Linked DNA regions of Homo sapiens: regions 1 and 2 are each linked to region 3. The links are contacts of gene promoters, found by promoter capture Hi-C in human tissues and cell types (Jung and others, 2019). All regions are on one chromosome and are shown on one strand. Each heading gives the region's core, a stretch centred on a gene start or on the middle of the fragment in contact. The rest is flanking DNA. Distances are from core to core; before and after follow the strand shown. Region 1 has its middle 13 kb from the start of CCL8. Region 2 overlaps LINC01989 (long intergenic non-protein coding RNA 1989). Region 3 holds the start of CCL2 (C-C motif chemokine ligand 2).

Region 1 (3,277 bases), core at 433-2,932, 77 kb after region 3:
CACAAGAAAATACAATGATTACTTAACTAACTGCAATTACAAGAGTTAGAAATCTCCCTAGTTGTTCACATAATACTTGTACAAATTCACACAATCGTGTGGACCACTTAAGCTTAGTGTGAACCAAAAGAGCAAACCATAGTCATGGCTAGAGTTTTGTAATAACAGAAGAGTAATTGTTACCTTATGAATATACTTTAAAAATCACTTGGCTAGTAATTGTACTGTTTCCTCATTGCTCTGGGGTGTGTATGAAGGCTCTTAGGAGAGCAAACATCTATTTCTGTTCTGTATGCCTCTCTCTCATTTCAAACTGTGTAAAATAACTATTGCCCCACCATGAACATTGGGGATTGGAAAGATAGTCCTACAATCTTCTTCATAGGTTTTGGCTTTTAGGCAAGCCGGCTGGTTTTCTCCAAAGCTTTCTTTTGAATCTTCAGATACTATTTTAATCCTAAATGTAGATTACTGTGTTTGTGAGGGTATCTAAGTGACCATGTGATGGCAAGGACAACAAAGTAGTCCAGGAACACAGTAAGTGAGTGTGTGTGTGTTTGTGTGTGTGTGTGTTTCCAACTGAGCCCGGCTTTGAGATTTCATTTTGTTAGTTGACAGCTCTTTAATCAATACCAAAGACTCTGGAACACTGCAGATTTGCTATGGAGGTAGATAAAACAAATCAGGCAGTTAAGTCAATTGAGAAAAAAAGGGATTTTCCATCTTTAGATAATATCACGACTAACAGTTGATTCTTTATTCTTGGTGCACATTTAACATTTCTACCTATTTTGGGAAATATTCAAGTCTTCTTCTTTTTTTTTTTTTTTATTGTTCATTCTTGGGTGTTTCTCGCAGAGGGGGATTTGGCAGGGTCATAGGACACTAGTGGAGGGAAGGTCAGCAGATAAGGGTCTTCTTACCTGTCTCTCAGAACAAACACATTTAAATTCAGCTTGTATTAACTACAGATAAAAGAAAAAAACAGTATTAACATTTGTATGACAGCACTGCCGTTCACTTTCTGGATTTGTGACACACAAACATCATGCATTCTAAGACAGAAGTTAATTTTATCAGTGTCACTAGTGTTGTTAATTTTAAAAGATACAGCAAGTTCAAAGCTTTTCCAAAAATTGAAATCACCATGTTTTAAGACAGACTGGAATGTTACAAATGATTCTGTAAAATAATCATTTTTCTGTACATTCTCATCTTTTGGTTCTTCCTTATCTGAATCCACAGTGGGTACCTCCCATCCTTCAGCAGTTTATCCAGGTGAGAATACTTGAATGTGAACTGAGAGGCCCAGTCACTCAGGGTCTCCTCCTGGGCAGGAGGGAGGTCAGAAAGGTCATCATGCTTGTCCTGCAGTGCTCCCTTATCCAGGCAAAATGTGGCAGGGCCCCTGGATGTATCTCTTTCGGCAAAGATCCTGTGTGGCCCCCTGGCCCTTGGAACTTGCAACCTCTGGTCACGCTGAACACTTTGCCCTTGCTGGTGTGGCCATGAGAATGTGCAGGTCCTAAACCCCATTGAAGTGCTGCAGCTCGGCAAGGGAGAAGTTGTACCTGTTGCCACCACATCTTTGGCAGCAAAGTTTAGGCCAGGCTAGGCAGGGCTCTGGAGCTCCCTGCTTTCTCCTCCCTCTCAATGAGTGAGTTGCCGCTATGAATCTCTTTTTTTTTTTTGAGACGGAGTTTCACTCTGTTGCCCAGGCTGGAGTGCAATTGTGCGATCTCAGCTCACTGCAACCTCCACTTCCTGGCTTCAAGCGATTCTCCTGCCTCAGCCTCCCGAGTAGCTGGGATTACAGGCGGCCACCACCACGCCCGGCTATTTTTGTATTGTTAGTAGAAACAGGGTTTCACCACGTTGGCCAGGCTGGTCTCGAACTCCTGACCTCAGGTGATCCACCCGCCTTGGCCTCTCAAAGTGCTGGGATTACAAGCGTGAGTCACTGCAACCGGTCGCCACTATGAATCTCTTAAACACAGCTTTTAAAGCTCACACATTTTAATATGACACATTTTCATCATAATTTACCTCAAAATATATTCTCATTTCCATTGTGATTTCTTCTTTGATCTATGAGTTATTTAGACAAAATTGACTAAAGTTTTAAGCTTTGAGATATTATAAAAATAAATCATTTTATTGTTGGTGTTAATTTAATTCCATAATGGTTAAAGAACACATTCTATGTGTTCAAACCTTTTCTATTTTTGAGATTAGCTTTGTAGTCCAACATAGAGAGTCAGTTTGATAAATGTTCCACGTGTATTTGAAAAAATGTATATGCTGAAGTTGTTGGTTACAGACATGTCAACTAAGTAAATTTTGCTTGTAGTGTTTTTCTACTCTAATGACATTTTCAGAAAAAAAAATGAAAGCTGAATGAATTTGTTACTAGAATAACAATATTTCACTATGAGAAAATCTGAAGGGAAATGATTCCAGTGGAAACACAGATCTTCAGGAAGTAAACAACAGCACTGTAAATGATCAGGAGCAAGACAAGAAGCATCTCCTATTCCTTTTCAACATTGTTCTCAACGTCCTAGGCAGTGCAATAAGGTAAGATAAAAAGAAACAGAGACATAAGGATTAGAAAGAAAGAACTTAAAATGTCATATACAGGTAACATGATTATATACATAGGAAATACAAGGAGATCTACAAAAACTACTAGAATGAAGTGAATTTCTCAAGATCACAGGAATTAAGCTAATATACAAAAATCACTTGAATTTCTATATACTAATAAGAAATTAGAAATTAAAGTTTTAAAAATCCATCTATTGTATCATCAAAAATAGAATAAGAATAAGAATAAATTTAACAAAAGATGTGTAAGACCTCTATACTGAAAACTACCACACATACTCAAGGGAAAATGAAGAAGGACCTAAATAAATGAAGAGCTATATACCACATTTATGGAGCAGAAGGCTCGATAATGTTAAGCTGTCAATTTAGGATGGAGCTGGAGGCCATTATCTTTAGCAAGCTAACACAGAGACAGAAAACCAAATACTGCATGTTCTCACTTATAAGTGGAAGCTAAATGATGAGAAGACATGGTCACATGCAGGGAAACAACACACACTGGGGCCTTTCAGAGGGAGGATCTGAAAGATCCTACCCACACTGGGCGGAGGGAGAGGATCAGGAAAAATAACTAATGGGTACTAGGCTTAATGCCTGTGTGACAAAATAATCTGTACAACAAACTCCCATGACAGAAGTTTACCTATGTAACAAACCTGCACTTGTA
Region 2 (3,653 bases), core at 830-3,329, 85 kb before region 3:
CTAATGTCTAAAGGAGCCCCAGGTGGCATGGAGCTATACCCTGTGGACTTGTGATCTCTGTTCCATGCCAAATGGAAAGCATACAGTCATGAATCAGGGTTTGAGTGTGAGAGCAGACAAAGAGTGAGATTTAAATATTCATTAGTCAGGGTTCATCTAGGTCCCTGGGGACAGGAGAGGATTCTCATGATTAATTTCAGGGGCCTTTTCCCTGAGATGGGGGGGGACACTCTGCTATGGTCATGTACACCTTATTAAGCACTGCTTGAAATCCTCCCTACCACAAAAGTGCTGTGATTTCAAGGTTTCCCTCTTTTATGGGAAAACCATAGCACAAGAATCTACACTGTAAACCCTATGCCTACTTAAGCCCAGAAGGAGCCTGTTACCTCATAGAATAATCTTATTTTGCCTTCAAAAGAAGCAGTTATCAAGTGCTCGCTGGGCTTCAGCTGTTTTCACATCCATTTTATTTTGAAAGCAACTGCCCTGCAGATCTTGTGACCCTTGACTGATAGGCGAGGCACCCGAGAACATGGGAACGAATGCATGTGCTCGTGGTTTTCATAGAATTTGGGGCATTGGAAAATGGAAGGTAGGTGCTTCTGGGTCTCAGAAATTTGCACGTCAGAACCCCTCCTAAGGGGCGTCATACGTGTCTCTGAGTCTTGTATACAGAGATATCCAAGCAGGAGTGGAAGAATGCTTTTTAAAAAGTAACAAAGTCAGGCCTAGTAGATAGAGTCTGAATGACTCATTATAACATAACATTTTCTCCTGTCTCTCAAAACAGGAGAATTAGCTCACTAACTATTATATAAGCTCTTTGAGGACAGAGAACAAGTCTAATTGAGCATTACATCCTCAAAGACTGGCAGAAATCTCAAAACATCAGAGATGCTCAAAACTATGGAAAGAAAAAAAAATGTCCTCAAAGAAAACTTCAGCGCATATTCTTCTTTTTATTCAAGTATCCACTGATTCACCTTCATGGGCCAGGCTCTTGGGTACAATGTGCATGAGGCAGTTCAAGTCCCCACCATCCTGGGACTTGGTCTAACTAGTGCTTCTGCACAAATGAGCTTCCAACAGTTGTGTATTCTCTGATATTGCAGGATGAACCATAGGCCCTTAAAGAAGAAAAGAAAAAAAAAAGAAAAAGAGTACTTAACAATTGCATTCTTTGTGTTTCTTGCCAGAATGGACCAGAAACTACTAGCAATTATGTTGAAGCCATTAGTGCAAAGCCAATTTGCTTCTAGAGTTACAGTTGCACTCCAGGAACTTGAGCTACACTCCAGAGAGATCATTAGTTGCTGCAGACATGTTACTGAGGGCAGAGGTGTCATTTCCAGTCTGGAATGTCCTCAGTCAAGTGTGGGAGCAGAAAATGGGGGTCAAAATAATTAACCTCATGTGATTTTGGCAGGACTTCTTGCAAAATCACCCATATACACTTAACATTTATTTCAGTTGAATAATCTCAATGTATCAGTTTTATCAAAATATTTCTTTTTCTCTTTTATTTTCCCACCTGGCTGACCTTTTTTTTTTTAATTTTTTTTATTTTTTTTTTCTGGCTTTCAATACAAACACCTTTAACTTACTTTCTTTGATTCCATTCTCCCTTCCCATTCCCAGTAATAGATGATTGTAACTAATGGAACTCACAAGTATTGCTGGTTGATGCCTTTGCTAGGATTTTCAGTACCATAATCCTCTCACCAGATCATAAGTCTCAGGAGAAAACACCTAATTTCTCCCTTTGTAAAACTTTCCTTGACTTCGTTTCAATTAAATCACTTTCACCGACCCCAGGCCTCCATTAACTATATCCATCGAAATCATCTGTTTCACCACTCTGTGTCCGAGGCTGAGGCAGACACCCCGGCAGCATCCCAACTGACCGAGGAGATGACAGAGTGGGGCTGGCAGGGGTTCAGTTATCAACTCTGGGTTCCAATACTGTTTCCACCAGTCACTACTGGAGATGGGTCCTTCAACAGCTCATCGGGAGAATGAGGATAACAACATTTATCAGCTTGTAAGAAATAAAATGGATAAGTATGTGAAGTTTCTATCAGTGTGGATTTTGATGAGCCTTAATTCCATCATCTCCATTCAACAAACATGTCCTGAAATCCACCTATATGCAAAGTGTTGCACACGACATAAGTTTGCCAGCTGGGTGCATTGGCTTACCTCTATAATCCAGCACTTTAGGAGGCTGAGGCAGGAGGATCGCCTGAGCCCAGGAGTTTGAGACCAGCCTGGGCAACATGGTGAGATCCTGTCTCTACAAAAACTTTTAAAACTTAGCCAAGCGCGGTGGCATGTACCTATGGTCTCAGCTCCTCAGGAGGCTGAGGAAGGAGGATTGCTTGAGCCCAGGAGTTTGAGGCTGCAGTGAATTGTGATCACGCTGCTACACTCCAGCCTGGGTGATAGAGCAAGACCCTGTCTCAATAAATGAATAAATAAGTAAAATATTTAAATAAAATATTTAGAACTGGTATGAGATATTTCAGTAATTGGGGTATAATTACAGTCACATATTTTTGTTGTTATTAAATGAATCACTCAAGCCATTTCTTCTAATCAACATGAAGTCCAGAATCTCTCTCCTTGCTTCTTGATATTATTTTATCTTCCCTGTATTTATTCTCACCACTTATCTAAGAGCTCCAGGGCTTTGTCAGTCACTCTTGCTTTACAGGGATGCCCAATCTTTTGGCTTCCCCGGTCCACAACGGAATAAGACTTTGTCTTGGGCCACACGTAAAATACACGAACACTAACGATAGTTGATGAGCAAAAAAAAAGAAAAAAAGAAAAAACATGTTTATAATGTTTTGAGAAAGTTTACAAATTTGTGTCGGGCCACATTCAAAACTGTCCTGAGCGGCGGGCTGGACAAGCTTGCTTTAAAATATCAATCAGGGCCATCTCCTCCAAGGCCAAGTGCAATTGCCCCCAACTACCACCAGAGGTCACTGTGGAAGAATGATCTCATACAGGTCTAGAGACACTTCCCACCACAGCCAAGGCCATGCTGGTGCTGGCCTAGATAACCGCACAGTGGGGAGCTGCGGTTATATTTCCCTTAGTTCACAAGTACACATGTTCAACTGTTGTTACTCAGGTCTATACACTGTGTCAGGGGAACCAGGTGCTGAGACCCTTCCAGACGCGTTTATACACTGAGCTTCAACTAGATCTCCCTGAGCAATCTACCTGGCCCCTTCTCTCCAGTCCATGAACCCTGGTGAGTGCCACCACTCTCTGCCTTGTTTATTCCCCTCATCAAATGTTTCTAGGATCATAGTTACCATCTTGTTCCCTTTCGGCCGTGTGGATCTACAGGATCCATTTGCAGATTGGTCTACACCTTCTCAGGTCCCTACATAATAAAGAGAGACAGCTGCTATTTCTCAAAAAGTGTCTCCAACAGTATCCATCCCTCTTCCTGACAACACACACACAAAGTCCTTGTTACAACCTCAGGAAAATGACTGCCTCTCATAAAAGAAAATGTGGTTGTCCTTCACAGAGAAGGGCCACCGTTTTTTTGTTTTGTTTTGTTTTGTTTTCCCCCTAAATGATTGCTGTTATATCTGGCCAGATGCTCAGTCTTAGGTACTAAAAACACAAAA
Region 3 (3,518 bases), core at 116-2,615:
CAGTGACCCTTTATGAAAGAAGTCACTAGTCTTTGTATGCCCATTGGGCAAGGGCACCGCAAGGCTCAGAAGGAGGAGGCAGTGGGCTAGGAGAATCGAGAGATCAGAATTTTAAACTCAGCCCAGCCATTAACATGCCTCAAGTACTCCTATCATATTTGTAAGAGACAACAGTTCACTGAAATGAATTCTAAGGTCTTTGGGTTTTTATCAGTGTGCTTCTGTAGTTTCTGAGGAAATCTAAGGCACAACTGAGGAATGAAGTCAGGCTTTCCAATTCCCGAAATACTCCTCCACTGCTTACTCATGTCCCTTGGAAATTAAGAAGGAAGCCAGGAGAATAGCTGCCATAACCAGGGATGAACTTCTTGTCCACTGCTGCCTGCTATGCTAGCAACAGCCTCCTAACTCATAATGACTTAGCCATGAGGAATGTTTCTAGATTCTCCTTTAGCTGTCTGCCCATTTGGAAGATGCTGAGGACAGAGAGAGGACCCAAGCAGGCAACTAGTTGGAGGACTTGTACACGTTTCCTTCCAGCAGTATGTCAGAGAGGTGGCAGCCCACTGGGGACAGGGCTGCCTGGGTTCTGTGCTCGAGGGGACCTTGAGCAGGCTATTTAACCCTTCTGTGCCTCAGTTGCCTGATCTATAACATGAAAATTAGCAATCCCTACTAGATAAAGTTGGGGAATTTACAGAGTTAATATTTGTAAAGGTCTGAGAATATTCCTGGCAGAGTAAGCACTCTGTGAGTATGACACTGGCATTTCTTCTGCAGCACTACATGCTGTCTATGCCTTTGTCCAAGTCTGAAACCCTAGAACTCTTAGAATTCAGTTCAATGTTTACACAATCCTACAGTTCTGCTAGGCTTCTATGATGCTACTATTCTGCATTTGAATGAGCAAATGGATTTAATGCATTGTCAGGGAGCCGGCCAAAGCTTGAGAGCTCCTTCCTGGCTGGGAGGCCCCTTGGAATGTGGCCTGAAGGTAAGCTGGCAGCGAGCCTGACATGCTTTCATCTAGTTTCCTCGCTTCCTTCCTTTTCTGCAGTTTTCGCTTCAGAGAAAGCAGAATCCTTAAAAATAACCCTCTTAGTTCACATCTGTGGTCAGTCTGGGCTTAATGGCACCCCATCCTCCCCATTTGCTCATTTGGTCTCAGCAGTGAATGGAAAAAGTGTCTCGTCCTGACCCCCTGCTTCCCTTTCCTACTTCCTGGAAATCCACAGGATGCTGCATTTGCTCAGCAGATTTAACAGCCCACTTATCACTCATGGAAGATCCCTCCTCCTGCTTGACTCCGCCCTCTCTCCCTCTGCCCGCTTTCAATAAGAGGCAGAGACAGCAGCCAGAGGAACCGAGAGGCTGAGACTAACCCAGAAACATCCAATTCTCAAACTGAAGCTCGCACTCTCGCCTCCAGCATGAAAGTCTCTGCCGCCCTTCTGTGCCTGCTGCTCATAGCAGCCACCTTCATTCCCCAAGGGCTCGCTCAGCCAGGTAAGGCCCCCTCTTCTTCTCCTTGAACCACATTGTCTTCTCTCTGAGTTATCATGGACCATCCAAGCAGACGTGGTACCCACAGTCTTGCTTTAACGCTACTTTTCCAAGATAAGGTGACTCAGAAAAGGACAAGGGGTGAGCCCAACCACACAGCTGCTGCTCGGCAGAGCCTGAACTAGAATTCCAGCTGTGAACCCCAAATCCAGCTCCTTCCAGGATTCCAGCTCTGGGAACACACTCAGCGCAGTTACTCCCCCAGCTGCTTCCAGCAGAGTTTGGGGATCAGGGTAATCAAAGAGAGGGTGGGTGTGTAGGCTGTTTCCAGACACGCTGGAGACCCAGAATCTGGTCTGTGCTTCATTCACCTTAGCTTCCAGAGACGGTGACTCTGCAGAGGTAATGAGTATCAGGGAAACTCATGACCAGGCATAGCCTATTCAGAGTCTAAAAGGAGGCTCATAGTGGGGCTCCCCAGCTGATCTTCCCTGGTGCTGATCATCTGGATTATTGGTCCGTCTTAATGACACTTGTAGGCATTATCTAGCTTTAACAGCTCCTCCTTCTCTCTGTCCATTATCAATGTTATATACCCATTTTACAGCATAGGAAACTGAGTCATTGGGTCAAAGATCACATTCTAGCTCTGAGGTATAGGCAGAAGCACTGGGATTTAATGAGCTCTTTGTCTTCTCCTGCCTGCCTTTTGCTTTTTCCTCATGACTCTTTTCTGCTCTTAAGATCAGAATAATCCAGTTCATCCTAAAATGCTTTTTCTTTGTGGTTTATTTTCCAGATGCAATCAATGCCCCAGTCACCTGCTGTTATAACTTCACCAATAGGAAGATCTCAGTGCAGAGGCTCGCGAGCTATAGAAGAATCACCAGCAGCAAGTGTCCCAAAGAAGCTGTGATGTGAGTTCAGCACACCAACCTTCCCTGGCCTGAAGTTCTTCCTTGTGGAGCAAGGGACAAGCCTCATAAACCTAGAGTCAGAGAGTGCACTATTTAACTTAATGTACAAAGGTTCCCAATGGGAAAACTGAGGCACCAAGGGAAAAAGTGAACCCCAACATCACTCTCCACCTGGGTGCCTATTCAGAACACCCCAATTTCTTTAGCTTGAAGTCAGGATGGCTCCACCTGGACACCTATAGGAGCAGTTTGCCCTGGGTTCCCTCCTTCCACCTGCGTTCCTCCTCTAGCTCCCATGGCAGCCCTTTGGTGCAGAATGGGCTGCACTTCTAGACCAAAACTGCAAAGGAACTTCATCTAACTCTGTCCTCCCTCCCCACAGCTTCAAGACCATTGTGGCCAAGGAGATCTGTGCTGACCCCAAGCAGAAGTGGGTTCAGGATTCCATGGACCACCTGGACAAGCAAACCCAAACTCCGAAGACTTGAACACTCACTCCACAACCCAAGAATCTGCAGCTAACTTATTTTCCCCTAGCTTTCCCCAGACACCCTGTTTTATTTTATTATAATGAATTTTGTTTGTTGATGTGAAACATTATGCCTTAAGTAATGTTAATTCTTATTTAAGTTATTGATGTTTTAAGTTTATCTTTCATGGTACTAGTGTTTTTTAGATACAGAGACTTGGGGAAATTGCTTTTCCTCTTGAACCACAGTTCTACCCCTGGGATGTTTTGAGGGTCTTTGCAAGAATCATTAATACAAAGAATTTTTTTTAACATTCCAATGCATTGCTAAAATATTATTGTGGAAATGAATATTTTGTAACTATTACACCAAATAAATATATTTTTGTACAAAACCTGACTTCCAGTGTTTTCTTGAAGGAAATTACAAAGCTGAGAGTATGAGCTTGGTGGTGACAAAGGAACATGATTTCAGAGGGTGGGGCTTACATTTTGAAGGAATGGGAAAGTGGATTGGCCCCGGTCTTCTCCACTGGGTGGTCTCCTCTGAGTCTCCGTAGAAGAATCTTTATGGCAGGCCAGTTAGGCATTAAAGCACCACCCTTCCAGTCTTCAACATAAGCAGCCCA

The links. Contacts are between HindIII fragments. The study calls those that stand out against the background at their distance.
Region 1: a fragment that was not itself captured here is called in contact with the fragment with the promoter of CCL2 in region 3 in 6 of the 25 tissues and cell types used here (H1 embryonic stem cells, aorta, hippocampus and 3 more).
Region 2: a fragment that was not itself captured here is called in contact with the fragment with the promoter of CCL2 in region 3 in 2 of the 25 tissues and cell types used here (mesendoderm cells and spleen).

Annotation. Positions count from the first base shown.
Region 1 is chr17:34,330,665-34,333,941 of GRCh38, forward strand. No RefSeq gene overlaps it. Among named protein-coding and RNA genes, the nearest start is that of CCL8, 13 kb to the left of the region's middle. The HindIII fragment of the contact is 4,891 bases long and covers 1-3,277 here.
Region 2 is chr17:34,168,430-34,172,082 of GRCh38, forward strand. It overlaps LINC01989 (long intergenic non-protein coding RNA 1989), which reads right to left. Exons shown (of 6, transcript NR_110748.1): 6 at 947-1,130. Among named protein-coding and RNA genes, the nearest start is that of LINC01989, 13 kb to the right of the region's middle. RefSeq lists a silencer at 2,990-3,099. The HindIII fragment of the contact is 5,451 bases long and covers 1-3,653 here.
Region 3 is chr17:34,253,920-34,257,437 of GRCh38, forward strand. CCL2 (C-C motif chemokine ligand 2) reads left to right here and starts at 1,366. Exons shown (of 3, transcript NM_002982.4): 1 at 1,366-1,506; 2 at 2,303-2,420; 3 at 2,803-3,284. The coding sequence starts at 1,431. The coding sequence ends at 2,908. RefSeq lists enhancers at 88-1,062, 1,063-2,037. The HindIII fragment of the contact is 9,151 bases long and covers 1-3,518 here.